Regions from separate parts of the Homo sapiens genome. Here region 1 is linked to region 2. Evidence: promoter capture Hi-C in 16 types of primary human blood cells and fetal thymus (Javierre and others, 2016). All regions are on one chromosome and are shown on one strand. Each heading gives the region's core, a stretch centred on a gene start or on the middle of the fragment in contact. The rest is flanking DNA. Distances are from core to core; before and after follow the strand shown.

Region 1 (6,653 bases), core at 1,162-3,661, 120 kb after region 2:
TCCCTTTCCACGCCACATCTAGGTTTGAGGACTGCTCAGTTTACTGCCTTTACCTTGATGTCTTCATTTTTTTTTTTTTTTTTTTAGACAGAGTCTCGCTCTGTTGCCCAGGCTGGAGTGCAGTGGCGTGATCTCAACTCACTGCAAGCTCTGCCTCCCAGGTTCACGCCATTCTCCTGCCTCAGCCTCCCAAGTAGCTGGGACTACAGGCGCCCACCACCACGCCTGGCTAATTTTTTGTATTTTTAGTAGAGACGGGGTTTCACCATGTTAGCCAGGATGGTCTCGATCTCCTGACCTCGTGATCTGTCCACCTCGGCCTCCCAAGATGTTTTCTTTTATGTTTGGGGAACAGTGTTTCCATGTTTTGGAAAACATGTAATTGTTCTTTGCTGCAATCTGTCATTACGCCACAACTTTTACTTTTTGCAGAATGCATCTTGATAGACCTCAGTGTAACCATATGTATACTCAGTTGCAGCAAAAATAGATTTTACAAAATTTATTTTACCAAACAAATGGAGTGCCATAGCATACTGCTGGAAAACCACTGTCTTATATACCTGAAGAGTAAATCACAATAAAAAGAAGAGCAGAATGAGGCCGGGCGCAGTGGCTCATGCCTGTAATCCCAGCACTTTGGGAGACCAAGGTGGGCGGATCACTTGAGGTCAGGAGTTCGAGACTAGCCTGACTAATACGGTGAAACCCCGTCTCTACTAAAATTACAAAAATTAGCGGGGCATAGGCCTGTAGTCCCAGCTACTCAGGAGGCTGAGGCAGGAGAATCTCTTGAACTGGGGAGGCAGAGGTTGCAGCTAGCTGAGATCACACCACTGCATTCCAGCCTGAGCAACAGAGTGAGACGCTGTCTAAAAAAAAAAAGGAAGAACAGAATGAAAAAATTGGAACAGCATCGGAGGGTCCTTGCCCAGTGGCCCTACACTGGCATCTGAAAGCAGAGCTTTGCCCTTCTCCTTGTGGGATGACAATGCGAGGCTGCTTTTCCAGTTAGTGCCACTTAGAGTTGGCTGCTCTGGGAGACGTATGGACATGAGGTTGCTTGGTGAAGCCTGGATAATGTGCCAGAATGTCAGTGGGTTCTTATAGTTTGATGATGTAGAGGTGTGGATATGCGGAGAATAACATTATATATATACTTAAAAGTTAGCACTTGTAGGGCTGGGCACAGTGGCTCAGGCCTGTAATCCCAGCAATTTGGGAGGCCAAGGCAGGTAGATCACGAGGTCAGGAGATCAAGACCATCCTTGCTAGCGCGGTGAAATCCCATCTCTACTAAAAATGCAAAAAATTAGCCGGGCGTGGTGGCAGGTGCCTGTGGTCCCAGCTGCTCAGGAGGCTGAGGCAGGAGAATGGCGTGAACCCGGGAGGCGGAGCACGCAGTGAGCTGAGATCGCGCCACTACACTCCAGCCTGGGCGACAGAATGAGACTCCATATCAAAAAAAAAAAAAAAAAAAAAAGTTGGCACTTGTTTGGTATTAAAAGCTCAGGTTTGCAAGTGTCTGCCTTGCATTTAGAGAAGCTTGTGGTATTATCGCTCCGTGTTCGGAATTACCCAAGTGATTCCAGGAAGATTAGGCAAGTTTATTTTATTATCATGCACATTAATTTAGGAATTTGGCTGGAAACTTTATTTCCCTTTTTCTTAAAGCAAATATCTAAAGTTGATCCTTTTTAAATACTACAGCATTCATTTTCCTCAAGTTTCTTAGTATCATAGGCAAATGTAAATCCTGGGTAGTTTGGAGAAATGAATCAAAAAGAAGGAATGAATAAAACACAACAAATTTCATTCAGAATAAGCCTGTGCCTAATGCTTACGTGCAGTGTGGGTAGGGCATAGCTACTTTATTCAAATTATTTGTTGAAGGTCTACCATCTACCTAATCTATATTCTAGTTTCTGAGGATAAAACAGTGAACAAGACAGATCAGTTTCTGCTGTCGCTGATCTTAAATTTTAGTGGGAAGGGCAAATGACAAACAATATACAAATGAATATATAACATGCCAAATAAGGAGGGAATCGAGAGTAATGAAGTGGGGAGGGAGCCACAAGTGCTAATTCATAACTGGTAGGTGGGGAAAAATTTCTGATAAGGCGACATTTGAACAGGGAACTGGTGAGCCATGTGGGTGTCTGTGGCAACTGTACTCCAGGCTGAAGAACATCACAGGCAAAGACCCTGAGGAGGCAGCACAGTGGGCACATTCAAGAGCAGCAGGAAGACCATTATCTTCCTGGCTGGATCAAAGTGAGCCAAGAAAGCACTGGAAGGTGATAAGATGAGGGTGCAGGGAAATCATGTGGGTCCTTACAGACTGAGGTGAGAATTTGGCTCTTATTCTGAGTAAGAGGAATCTACTGGAGGATTTTGAGCAGAGGAATGACATGATCAGGCGTACGTTTTTGGCTATCGTGTGGAAGACATGGTGGGTGGGAAAGTGGGTAGGAGGCTATTTTGATCATTGAAATGAGAGCTCATGGTGGTCTGCACCAGGATAATAGCAGTGACAGTGATGAGAGGTGGTCAGACTCTGGATGTATTTTGAAGACAGAGTTGACATGCTTTGCTGCTGGACTGAACGTGGAGTGCGAAAGAAAGAGAGGAGTCAGGCCGAGGCAGTGGCTCATGCCTGTAATCCCAGCACTTTGGGAGACGAAGGCAGGTGGATCACTTGAGGTCAGGAGCTTGAGATCAGCCTGGGTAACATGGTGAAACCCCGTCTCTACTAAAAATACAAAAATTAGCCAGGTGTGGTGGTGCGTGCCTGTAGTCCCAGCTTCTCTGGAGGCTGAGGCATGAGAATTGCTTGAACCTGGGAGGTGGAGGTTGTAGTGAGCCAAGATCGCACCACTGCATTCCAGCCTGGGTGACAGAGCGAGACTCTGTCTCAAAAAAAAAAAAAAAAAAGAGGAGTCAAAGATGACTCCAATGTATTTACCACTTAGTGACCAGAGAAAGGCTATTTCCCTGGGCCTTTCTAGATGAGAACTGTGGGTGGGATTGTGGAGATAGGAATGAGGGCACAGGGAGACAGGCTATGCATAGAATGGGGATTTCGGTGGGTTGTTTCTTGGTGCATAATTATAAACTGTTTTGCTGTCAGCTACATATTTGGTGTCCTTAGTCTGTAATGATGTTTGGGAAGCCTCAAACCAAACCAAAGCATTTCCTCTGCCATCATGGGGGCCGTTTTAATTGCTCCAGTAGAGAGAAAAATCTTTGTTTAAACAATTGGAAGACAGGCCAAGAAGCTTGAAGTCTTTTTTATGGAAGAGGGAGGGCCAGTTTGAAATTTGCAAAATTCGGAAAGACTGGGGAAAAAACCCACATATTTGTTCACCTTCCCTTTCAACATTAGAATTAGCCCAGCTAAGCTTAAAGGAGGTGGTGTTTAGGCAGTGAACAGGCATTACTGTTTTACACAGCAGGTAATAAATAGATAGAACTCTGTACTCCAAGGATGATATAGATTGAAAATATAAATGTACTTGATAAGTGTTTAGAAAACTTGCAGCTAGTATATATAATAAATTATTGTATAAACTAGGGATTCAGTTATACTCTACCAAAATTTATTGAATGTGTACTTTGGGTATATTATTATGCTAACTGCTATGGCAGATATAGTAATGAATAAAATACAGTCCTGTTGCTCAAGAGTTTCTAATCAATAGGAATGACAACATGCCTCTAAGTATAAAAATTCAGACTCCTCTACACTATGGTAGATTGATTGCATTAACGGCCCCTCCCAGTTTTCACAGCCTTTGCCCTGAACCTTTGTGTTCCCTCCCATTCTGACTCTGGGCTCATTGATGTGACTTGCTTTGGCGCTGGAATGTTAGCAAACATGATGCAAGCAGAGGCTTGAAAAGCGCAGGCGTTTCCTCTTGCCCTCTTGCATGATTGGGTGTGTTCTCTTTTTCACTTCTTCCTTGTCATGAGGACATGACATGCCTGGGCTAACGTACTGCCAATGTGAGGCACATGTGGAGAAGATTCAAGGCCATCCTAAACCCCTCATAGCCCCTGACTCCCAAACACATGAGACAGCTCTGCCAAGATCAGCAGGAGTGTTTCTCAATGCACACTCTGACTGCATATGCCTACATGACCCCAGTTCAAGCCAGAGGAACCATTCTGCTGACCCACAGATTTATAAGCAAGAATAAATGGCCTTTTGAGATAGGGTCTTGCTCTGTCACCCATGCTGGAGTGCAGTGGTGCAATCATGGCTCACCGTAGCCTTGACCTCCTGGTCTCAAGTGATCCTCCCGCCTCAGCCTCCGGAGTAGCGGGGATTATAGGTGGGTGCCACCACACCAGGCATGGCTATTATTTGAAGCCGCAGTTTTGGGATGATTTTTATGCAGCACCACTGCAGCAGATAACTGATACAGGCACTCAAGACTCTTTGCAACTCGTCCCTGCCTTTCTAGCTTCTTGTCCCGCCTCCCCCATGCCTTTTATTTTATTTTACTGAGACAGGGTTCTCCTCTGTTGTCCAGGCTGGAGTGCAGTGGCACGATCTTGGCTCACTGTAACCTCTGCCTCCCGGGTTCAAGCGATTCTCCTGCCTCAGCCTCCTGAGTAGCTGGCATTACAGGCACCTGCCACTATGGCTGGCTAATTTTTTTGTATTTTTAGTAGAGATGGGGTTTCACCATGTTGTCCAGGCTGGTCTCGAACTCCAGACCTCAGGTGATGCACCCGTCTCGGCCTCCCAAAGTGTTGGGATTATAGGCTTGAGCCACAGTGCCTGGCCCCCTATGTACTTTATACTTCAGGCAACTGAGTTACCTGAATTCCTGAAATGGAACATGGTTTCTCATGCCTTTCCATATGTGATGTTTTACTTCTGAAATGTTCTTCACGCCTATCTCTGTCTGGACAACTGTTCTTTCTTCAATTCCAGTGTTGCTCCTCTGGAAAGTCATCCTGACACCCCAGGCTGGGTTCAGTGCCCCTTCCCTGTATCTGTAGCACAGAATGCACACATGGTTACAATTTTTTTTTTTTTTTTTTGAGACAGAGTCTTGCTCTGTCACCCAGGCTGGAGTGCAATGGCATGTCTTGGCTTACTGTAACCTCCGCCTCCCGGGTTCAAGCGATTCTCCTGCCGCAGCCTCCCAAGTAGCTGGGATTGCAGGTGCCTGCCACCATGCACAGCTAATTTTTGTATTTTTAGTAGAGACAGGGTTTTGCCATGTTGCCCAGGCTGGTCTCGAACTCCTGACCTCAGGTGATCCGCCTGCCTCGGCCTCCCAAAGTGCTGGGATTATAGGCATGAGCCACCGCACCTGGCCACGGTTATAATTTAGTATGCTAAGCATTCTCTATCCCCAAGAAGCAGAAGTTCCCGAAAAACAGGGACTGTGTATTCTCTACATCCTGAATACAAGGTTTGACGCAACATAGACTCTCCACACACATTTGCAAGTTTGCAAAGACATTTCTTTACCTTAATGTCACTGAGTTCTAAGTCTCATAGAGAAAGGAGAGATTTCTAAGAGAACAGGGAAGTTTTCACAGAAGAGGCAGAATTTGAAATGTTCCTTAGTTTTAATGGGTGGAGAGGGTTCCAGAGTTGGAGAAGAACATTTTGGGTAGAAGTAACACCCATAGACAGTGGCAATGTGGTACTCTGGTAGTTGAAGCATCCAGTATTATTGCAGTGAAGAATTCATGAGCAGGTGCAGTCAGAGGCAGGCCATTTTGTAGGGGCTTGAATAGCATCTTAAGGTATTGGGTCTTCATTTTGCAGGGCAGTGACACCATAAAGAACCATATTTTCAAGGGTTACTTTGGAAGCAGTGTATAGGGTATATTGGGGGTCAGGAAAGAAGGAGACTGGATATGTAGAACCATCTCTTGACTTTTGGAACAATCCAGACAGAAGGCAATAGTGAAAGTGAGAACGTGTAAAAAGAACATATAGAAGCTGGGCGTGGTGGCTCACGCCTGTAATCCCAGCACTTTGGGAGGCTGAGGTGGGCGGATCATGAGGTCAGGAGTTCAAGACCAGCCTGGCCACTGTGGTGAAACCCTGTCTCTACTAAAAATATAAAAATTAGCCGGGAATGGTGGCTCACGCCTGGAGTCCCAGCTACTGGGGAGGCTGAGGCAGGAGAATTGCTTGAACCCAGGAGGCGGAGGTTGCAGTGAGCTGAGATCGCACCATTGACTCCAGCCTGGGCGACAGAGTGAGACTTCATAAAAAAAAAAAAAAAAAAAAAAAAAAACTTTGGGAGGCTGAAGCGGGCAGATTACCTGAGGTCAGGAGTTTGAGACCAGTCTGGCCAACATGGTGAAACACCATCTCTACTAAAAAAAAATACAAAATTAGCCAGGTGTGGTGGTGAGTGCCTGTAATCCCAACTACTTGGGAGGCTGATGCAGGAGAATCACCTGAACCCAGAAGGTGGAGGTTGCAGTGAGCCAATATTGCACCATTGCACTCCAGCCTGGGTGATGGACGAAACTCTGTCTAAAAAAAAAAAAAAAAAAAAGAACATATAGGACATTGTAACTAAATGTGGGAAATGAGAAAGAGAAGATAATTGAAGATGACTCCTAGATTTTTTTTCCTAGTGTCTGGAAAAGAGGAACAGGCTTGAAAGGAA
Region 2 (7,510 bases), core at 3,964-6,463:
TATACTTTTCAAAAAGCCAATTTATAAGACATAAGTGATATAGTTTAAGACATCTGCCTTAAAGCATGAAAAATACCTTAATAGCAAGAAGAGCATATGAAAAAGCTTTAGAGATCATACAGTCTGGAGTTTTAAAAACTATTTCACAACAAAACTCATCCAGATGAAATTTTACACAGCCTCTCAAATATATAAAGCTGGCAAAAGCATTGCTATTTTATGTTCAAATACATTATGTTAATTTATTGTAAACTCAAATAAAGAGATAAACTAAGGGTTAGAGATGTTAAACAATCCATTTATTTTTGTATGCTTTGTTTTGATTTCACCCAGGTAAGCAGTTGCAGCTCTTAACAGTCCCATCTACAGTCTTCAGGATACTCTTCAAATACACTGATCCAAATGTTTTAAACAATAAAAGGAAAAGCTTTATTCTTAGGAATTTCTGCCCCATCGCACCCCCAAAATTAGCCACGTATAACCATGTAGCACTATGGTCTTCAATGTGTTAAAAAAAATTTAGGCCAAGCGTGATGGCTCACGCCTGTAATCCCAGCACTTTGGGAAGCCGAGGTAGGTAGATCACCTGAGGTCAGGAGTTCAAGATCAGCCTGGGCAACATGATGAAACTCTGTCTCTACTAAAAATACAAAAATGAGCTGGGCACGGTGGTGCATGCCTGTAATCCCAGCTACTCGGGAGGCTGAGGCAGGAGAATCGCTTGAGCCTGGGAGGCAGAGGTTGCAGTGAGCTGAGATTGTGCCATTGCACTCCAGCCTGGGCAACAGAGTAAGACTCCATCTCAAAAAAAAAAAAAAATTATATACACACATGCATACATATAAATATACACATGTGTATATATGAATGAGTATGAGTGCCAGAACCATTCAATGGGGAAAGGACAGTCCTTTCAACAAATGGTGCTGGGAAAACTGGATATGCAAAAGAATGAAGTTGGACCCTTACCTAACACATTTGCAAAAATTAATCCCAAATGGATCAAAGACCTAAACATAAGAGTTGAAACTATAAAACTCCTAAAAGAAAACAGGGAAAACCTTCATGACATTGGATTTGGCTACAGCCTCTTGGATATAACACCAAAAGCACAGACAGAAGAAAAAATAAATTGGACTTCCTCAAAATTTAAAACTTTTGTGTTTGGGGAGTGGGGGGCTGGGGGAGGGATAGCACTAGGAGAAATATCTAATGTAAATGACGAGTCAATGGGGGCAGCAAACAAACATGGCACACGTATACCTATGTAACAAACCTGCACGTTGTGCATATGTACATCAGAACTTGAAGTATAAAAAAAAAAATTTGTGCAAAAGGATACTATCAAGACAGTGAAAAGATAACCCATAAAATGGGAGAAAATGTTTGCAAATCATATATTTGATAAGGGATTAATATCCAGAGTGTACAAAGAACTCCTACAACTCACCAAAAAACAACCTACTTTAAAAATGAGTCAAGGACTTGGATAGACATTTCTCCTCAGATATACAAATGGACAATAAGCATACGAAAAGATGCTCAACATCCCTAATCATTAGGAAAATTCAAATCAAAACCACAATGAAATACCACACCACGCCCATTAGAATAGCTATTATCAAAAACATAAAAAGAAAAAACACTAGAAAAGAAGTGTTGGCAAGATACAGAGAAACTGGAACCTTTGTGCATTGCTAGTGGGAATGTAAAATGGTGCAGCTGCTGTGGAATGCAATATGGCAGTTCCTCAAAAATTAAATATAGAATTAGCATACAATCTAGCAATCCCATTTCTGGGTGTATAGAAATACTGAAAAAAGAACCGAAAGGAGGGATTCAAACAGTTGTATACCAATACTCAAGGCAGCATTATTCACAGTACCCCAAAGGTGGAAACAACCCAAATATCCATAAATGTGGTATATACATACAACGGAATATTAATCAGTCTGAAAAAGGAATGGAATTATGATACATCCTACATGGATGATCTTGAAGACAGTGTGTTAAGTAACATAAGCCAGACACAAGAATCAATATTGTGTGAGTCAAAAGTAGAAAAGTTGTTACTAGGAGGGTAGGGTAGAGGGAGGGAAGTGGATAGTTACTGTTTTGTTTTTGAACAGGGTCTCACTCTGTCACCCAGTGTGCATGATCATAGCGCACTGTGGCTTGTAGAATTACTGTTTAATGGGAAGAATTTCAGTTTGGGATGATAAAAAATTTCTGGAGATGGTGGTGATGATGGCACAATAATGTACTTAAGCCACTGAACTGTACACTTAAAAATAGTTAAAATGGTAATTTGTATGTTATGCATACTTTACCACATTTCTTTCAAAGAGTATATGTGTGTGTTGCTTTAGTGGCAGTGTAAAAACATGGTTAAGAATACAAGCTTAAGAATTAGGCTGCCCGGTTTCAAATCCAGCTCTGCCACTATAGCTCTGCAGTCTTTGGGCAACTTATTGTCTGTGCCTATTTTCTCAAATAATAGACTCTATTTCATAGGGTTATGGCGAGAATTAAATAAATTATCACATATAAAGTGTTTAAAACAGTGTACGTCATACAGTGGCCACTTTTTATTATTATAAGTTTAAAATACATTTTTATTGAGATTAAAGTCAAACATCTGCAGAATCTCTGAAATTCTCAAGTTCAGTGAAACAGTTTAAGAAGCAGTGATCTAATCCAAACTTCTCATTTTATAGGTAAAGGAATTAAGAGTCCAAGATAAGTTATCTGCCTGAGGTCACATCTTGCTTCACTAATATTAATTTTCCTAAAATTAAGTGTTTGGGATTAACAATACTAATGTTGACATTCAATTACTTCCAAACCAAGGCAACCAAAGCCATGAGATTCTACAATGTGTAACCAAGAATCTGTGAATAGTGTGACAGTTATCCACGATGCCAATCTAGTAAGTATTTATGGGGTGAGCACCAAAGGGCAGCAAAACCAAAAGACATAATCATCCTCAAAGACAATGGTTAAAAACACCTCTTTGGAAAATAAAGAGTTAAATATTTGTGAAAACACACCCAATAGTGCCCACTACTCCACTCCTTTCACCCAGTCACATACTCTATAATCTTAGTGAGACCTCTGAGTCTGAAAAATAAGCTGCTGCTTCTACCAAATAAAGCTAACGTTTATCATAAGGCAACATCTACAAATAATTCTTTATTACATTCAAACAGGAGACAGCAATCTAAATTATACAAAATGTCTAACCCAAAAAATCATGAATTAAGCTTTTTGTACTTACTTGAGTAGGGCTGCATCTGGTTTCTGGGAAATTCACCACACAAAAAGCAAAATAACGGAGACAATCTTTGAAGGTCAGACTCAACAAGAGTTAAAAGCTATTGAGCGTCTCTATTTTGCCCCTCCCCCAAAGGTCCTCCCCCTCAATTCGGCTCTCAAAGGATAGCACCACCATGTGAAATGTCCTCCTCCCCATCTGAATCTGCTGAAATCCTACTCATCCTTAAAGGTTTCACTTAAATGCCGAGGCTTCCATGCATTCCTCCCTCAATTTAGAATTAATCTCTCTTCTTCGCTCTCCTATTCTATACCTCAACATTTTACTATATAGTTCACTGTATTACACTTACCTACATTCACTAACCCCCCGCACCGCACCCCCAAAAAAACCACCCCGAGGAGGAAAGGAATTTAAGGTGCTGTTAAACACCTCTATGCCAGGCAAGGTGCTACGCATTTTGCATACATTATCTCATTTAATCTACATGAAAAACATCTGGGGAGGTAAACAGGTGGTGTTATTCCCATTTTACTGATAGGGAACGTACTGCAGAGTTCAATAGCTTATCCAACTCACATTGCAAGCCAATTCCAGGGCGTACGGTTTCCCCCACTCCGAAGAGCTCTTTCCACCACCCCATGCTTGTTCACCTGGTGTCACCCAGCCTAACTGACAGAGTAGGTATTCCATAAATGTTTGCTGAATTTAATATCCCCATGGACTGACTCTTTAATAATCCGATCACGCCTCATCCCTAACCCGTTACCTTTACTGTTCCTTAACGGTGGACTTTACCTACATAAGCAGCTCTCCACATTTCCCTGAGAAATGCTGCAGACAACATCAACCCTTATTGGAAGATTGAGTGAAGAACTTTTCCATTCTCCCGGATTTCCCCAACGGATCTTCCCAAAGAATTTAAGAAATGCACACACGCAAGACACATGTAACACTTACACCCTCCCTCAAGGCTCTTATTTCATATTAAACCATGTCTTCGAGCTTGTAAGCAATAAGGTTTATGCGGTTTCCAGCTCACACAGTGGGGACACCCTAAGTCACTGCCTTAAGAAAACCACATCTTTCAACCTGTCTTAACACGAAGGCATCCTAATACTATCACACTGCCCCCTCCCTCCGTCCACCCCCCCCCCCCCCCCATGAATTGCAGTTTGGATTTCCGGCGGGAATGTATAATACAGACCGCAAGAGGAGACGCGGTTAAAAAGCAATGAAGCAATTACTTATCCTGTTTAATTAGAAAGAAGACACAGAAGGAGCCCCGCCTTTCAAAATCTCTGCACTGAACTCATCTATGAAAGATGGGGGCATCGAAACCCAAGCAACCCGACATCCAGTAGCTGGTTTCTGCAGCTGGGCGGGGGAAAGTCCTTTCCTCCCTGCGGTCCCGGGCCACCAGCCCCCGGTGCTGGGTCGGAGAAGCCTAACCGCACCCTCCCAGGCGGCCCCTTATCTCATTGTCTCCCTCCGTCGCGGTCCCCAGGGGCGCAGGGTGCAGTCCAGGCCCCACCGACCTCCATCCACCAGCCGGGAGCGGTCCAGCCAGCCCCGGCCCGATCCCCAACCTGGCAACGACCCCGCCCCAGGCTGCCGCCGACCGTACCGCACCCGGATGGCGGGGCCGGGCGCCGGGAAAATGGAGGCGGGAGCGGCAGGAGCGCCTCACGGCCCCGCGCCCAGCCGGCTCCCTACCCCCTGGCCCCGAGGGCGAGGCTAACCACTCACCGCGGCAGTCGGTCGGCCTTCCCGCGGCCCCGGGCAAGGAAACCGCCGCTCGCGCTCCTCCAGCCGCTGCCTCCGCCTCCTCCCCAGGCGCGGCGCTCCCTCGCCAGAGACGCAGCGACTGCCAGCAGCTCCCGCGCCGCGCGCTCAGTGACTGACTGACTGACTGACTGACTGACTGACTGACTGACTGGCGGGCGGCGGCGGGAGCGGGGGCGGGGCGGCCGCAGCGCCCCGCGGCGGCGGCGGCGGCGGCGGAGCCGAGTGTGCTCGCGTCCAGCCGAGACGCAGAAGGCGGGGTTGAGGGCCGGACTGCCGACTGTAGGGCCGACTCGCGCGGGACCGCGCGCCGCCCCCGCCCGCCGCCAACCACTCACTTCCGGCGCAGGCCGCCGCGCCCGCCGCCCTTCCCTAGCCCGCGCCCCGCGCCGGCCCTCCGCCCTCCCTTCAGGCGCCCGGCCGCGCCCGGCCGCACTCAACCGCGGCTCCGCTCGTGCCTCGCCTTTCCTCCGCAAGTCCCTGTGAGCCGCCTACAGGAACGAGTGAATCAGAGAATGAATGAGTGGGGAGGAAAATCCCAGTGCTGCCCCACCCCCTGCTCGCCTTTCATAGGAAGCCGGCCCAGCAGCCTCTGTCCTAGCGCCCTGGGAGGCACAGCAGCCTCCAGCAGTTCTGTCAGGGAGCTGTACGCATCCACCTTTATACGCTGTCCGTGTATTCAGAGACTCCAGAAACGCATCCGGGGTTGGCTCGGTCACTTACAGGACCATTGTCGTTGAGATCTGTGAGGCCCTTCTTTAGGAAATCCCATTTTGGCCAAAAAGTCTCTGCAGTTTCATGGAATGTATTGGGAAACTTAGGAACGGGACATTTCGATGACCTTTACTTTTTAAACTTCGAAATCTGTTAATCCTGCCTCCTTAATTTCTGTCCCCCCACCCCATCGGAATTGTGTAGTAGTAAGGTGTCGGCATTTTTCCTTATCGCTAAGCTCAGCTGCTGCCTCTTTAGATGCAGGCTTGACTTCGGCAGACTTTTAGATTTTAAGTATGTCCTTATTTTGACCTTCACCTAAAGTTGATCAAAGAAAGGAACAAATGGAACTAAGTTATGTTTGCTTGGCTACATGCAAAGCAAGTTTGTTGACAGCATTAAAACAATTGAGAAATTGGGAGTGTGACCTGAAATTGGTTGCAATGAACATTGCTTTTTCATGTCTTCCCATCTGCTTGCTAAGAATTTATTTAAATTTTCACAAAGCATTGACTGTACATTCCTGAAATCCTAGCTCCCTCTCTAAGAATGAGAGTGTTCATTTCTCTGTCCTGGGGCCAAATCCTGGTTTGGTTAATTACATTCTTACTTCCTGATATTCTTGAGGACTTTCAAGTGGTTTCAGTCTTTTTTGTACAATCTGTTCCAAACTGGTACACAATCTGTTTCAAATTGGTATTTAGAACCATACAATACAGATACTGGCTGCCTTTCACACTTGAGATATCTGTACTTTTGAAACATAACTGCCCTTTTGTATTTTAAGTTCAGTAGGTATGTCAATATTCTTGTATAGAATAATACTATCTCTTGACTGGATTAAGAAAATGTGGCACATATACACCACGGAATACTATGCAGCCATAAAAAAGGTTGAGTTAATGTCCTTTGTAGGGACATGGATGAAGCTGGAAACCATCATTCTCAGCAAACTATCGCAAGGACAGAAAACCAAACACCACATGATCTCACTCATAGGTGGGACTTGAACAATGAGAACACTTGGACACAAAGCAGGGAATATATCACACAGGGGCCTGTTGGGGGGATGGAGAGGGGGGAGGGATAGCATTAGGAGATATACCTAATGTAAATGATGAGTTAATGGGTGCAGCACACCAACATGGCACATGTATACATATGTAACAAAGCTGCACGTTGTGCACATGTACCCTAGAACTTAAAGTATAATAAAAAATAAAAATAATAAAAGAATAATACTATCTCTTATAAATGAAGATGATCCTGCTGACCAACTTCTTTTAGACTTCTCTTCCTTTCTTGTGGGAATCATCATTTGCCACCTAATTATTTCAAGAAGTTATCCTCCAAAAGTGAATATAATACAACACTTTATTCATCCTTGTATCTCCCACAATATCTAGCATAGTATCTTGCACAATAAGTATTTATAAATTAATAAATGCTTTAAAATTTTTCATAAGTGATAATTTTATACAAATGTATCTAGTCTTTCACCTCATTTCCCTTGTGACCAAGTTTGTTGACATTAGACACACCTGGGTGCCAAACTTAATGAATCCTATTGTCATTAAATGTACTAGGCTGTGTGATACCTTACAAGGAAGATGATTCATTTAAACCTCCTTAAAAAAATAGACGATTGAAGCCAGGAGTGGTGGCTCGCACCTGTAATCCCAGCACTTTGGGAGGCTGAGGTGGGCGGATCACCTGAGGTCAGGAGTTGGAGACTAG

What was found. The method cuts DNA at HindIII sites, captures the fragments that hold promoters and counts their contacts. A CHiCAGO score of 5 or more calls a contact.
Region 1: a contact is called between a fragment that was not itself captured here and the fragment with the promoter of RAPH1 in region 2, in 1 of 17 cell types (M0 macrophages). The highest score is 5.5, in M0 macrophages.

The regions. Positions count from the first base shown.
Region 1 is chr2:203,652,891-203,659,543 of GRCh38, forward strand. No RefSeq gene overlaps it. Among named protein-coding and RNA genes, the nearest start is that of CD28, 50 kb to the right of the region's middle. The HindIII fragment of the contact is 1,736 bases long and covers 1,544-3,279 here.
Region 2 is chr2:203,530,088-203,537,597 of GRCh38, forward strand. RAPH1 (Ras association (RalGDS/AF-6) and pleckstrin homology domains 1) reads right to left here and starts at 5,214. Exons shown (of 14, transcript NM_213589.3): 1 at 5,024-5,214. RefSeq lists silencers at 4,983-5,082, 5,153-5,242, 5,293-5,362. The HindIII fragment of the contact is 18,695 bases long and covers 3,262-7,510 here.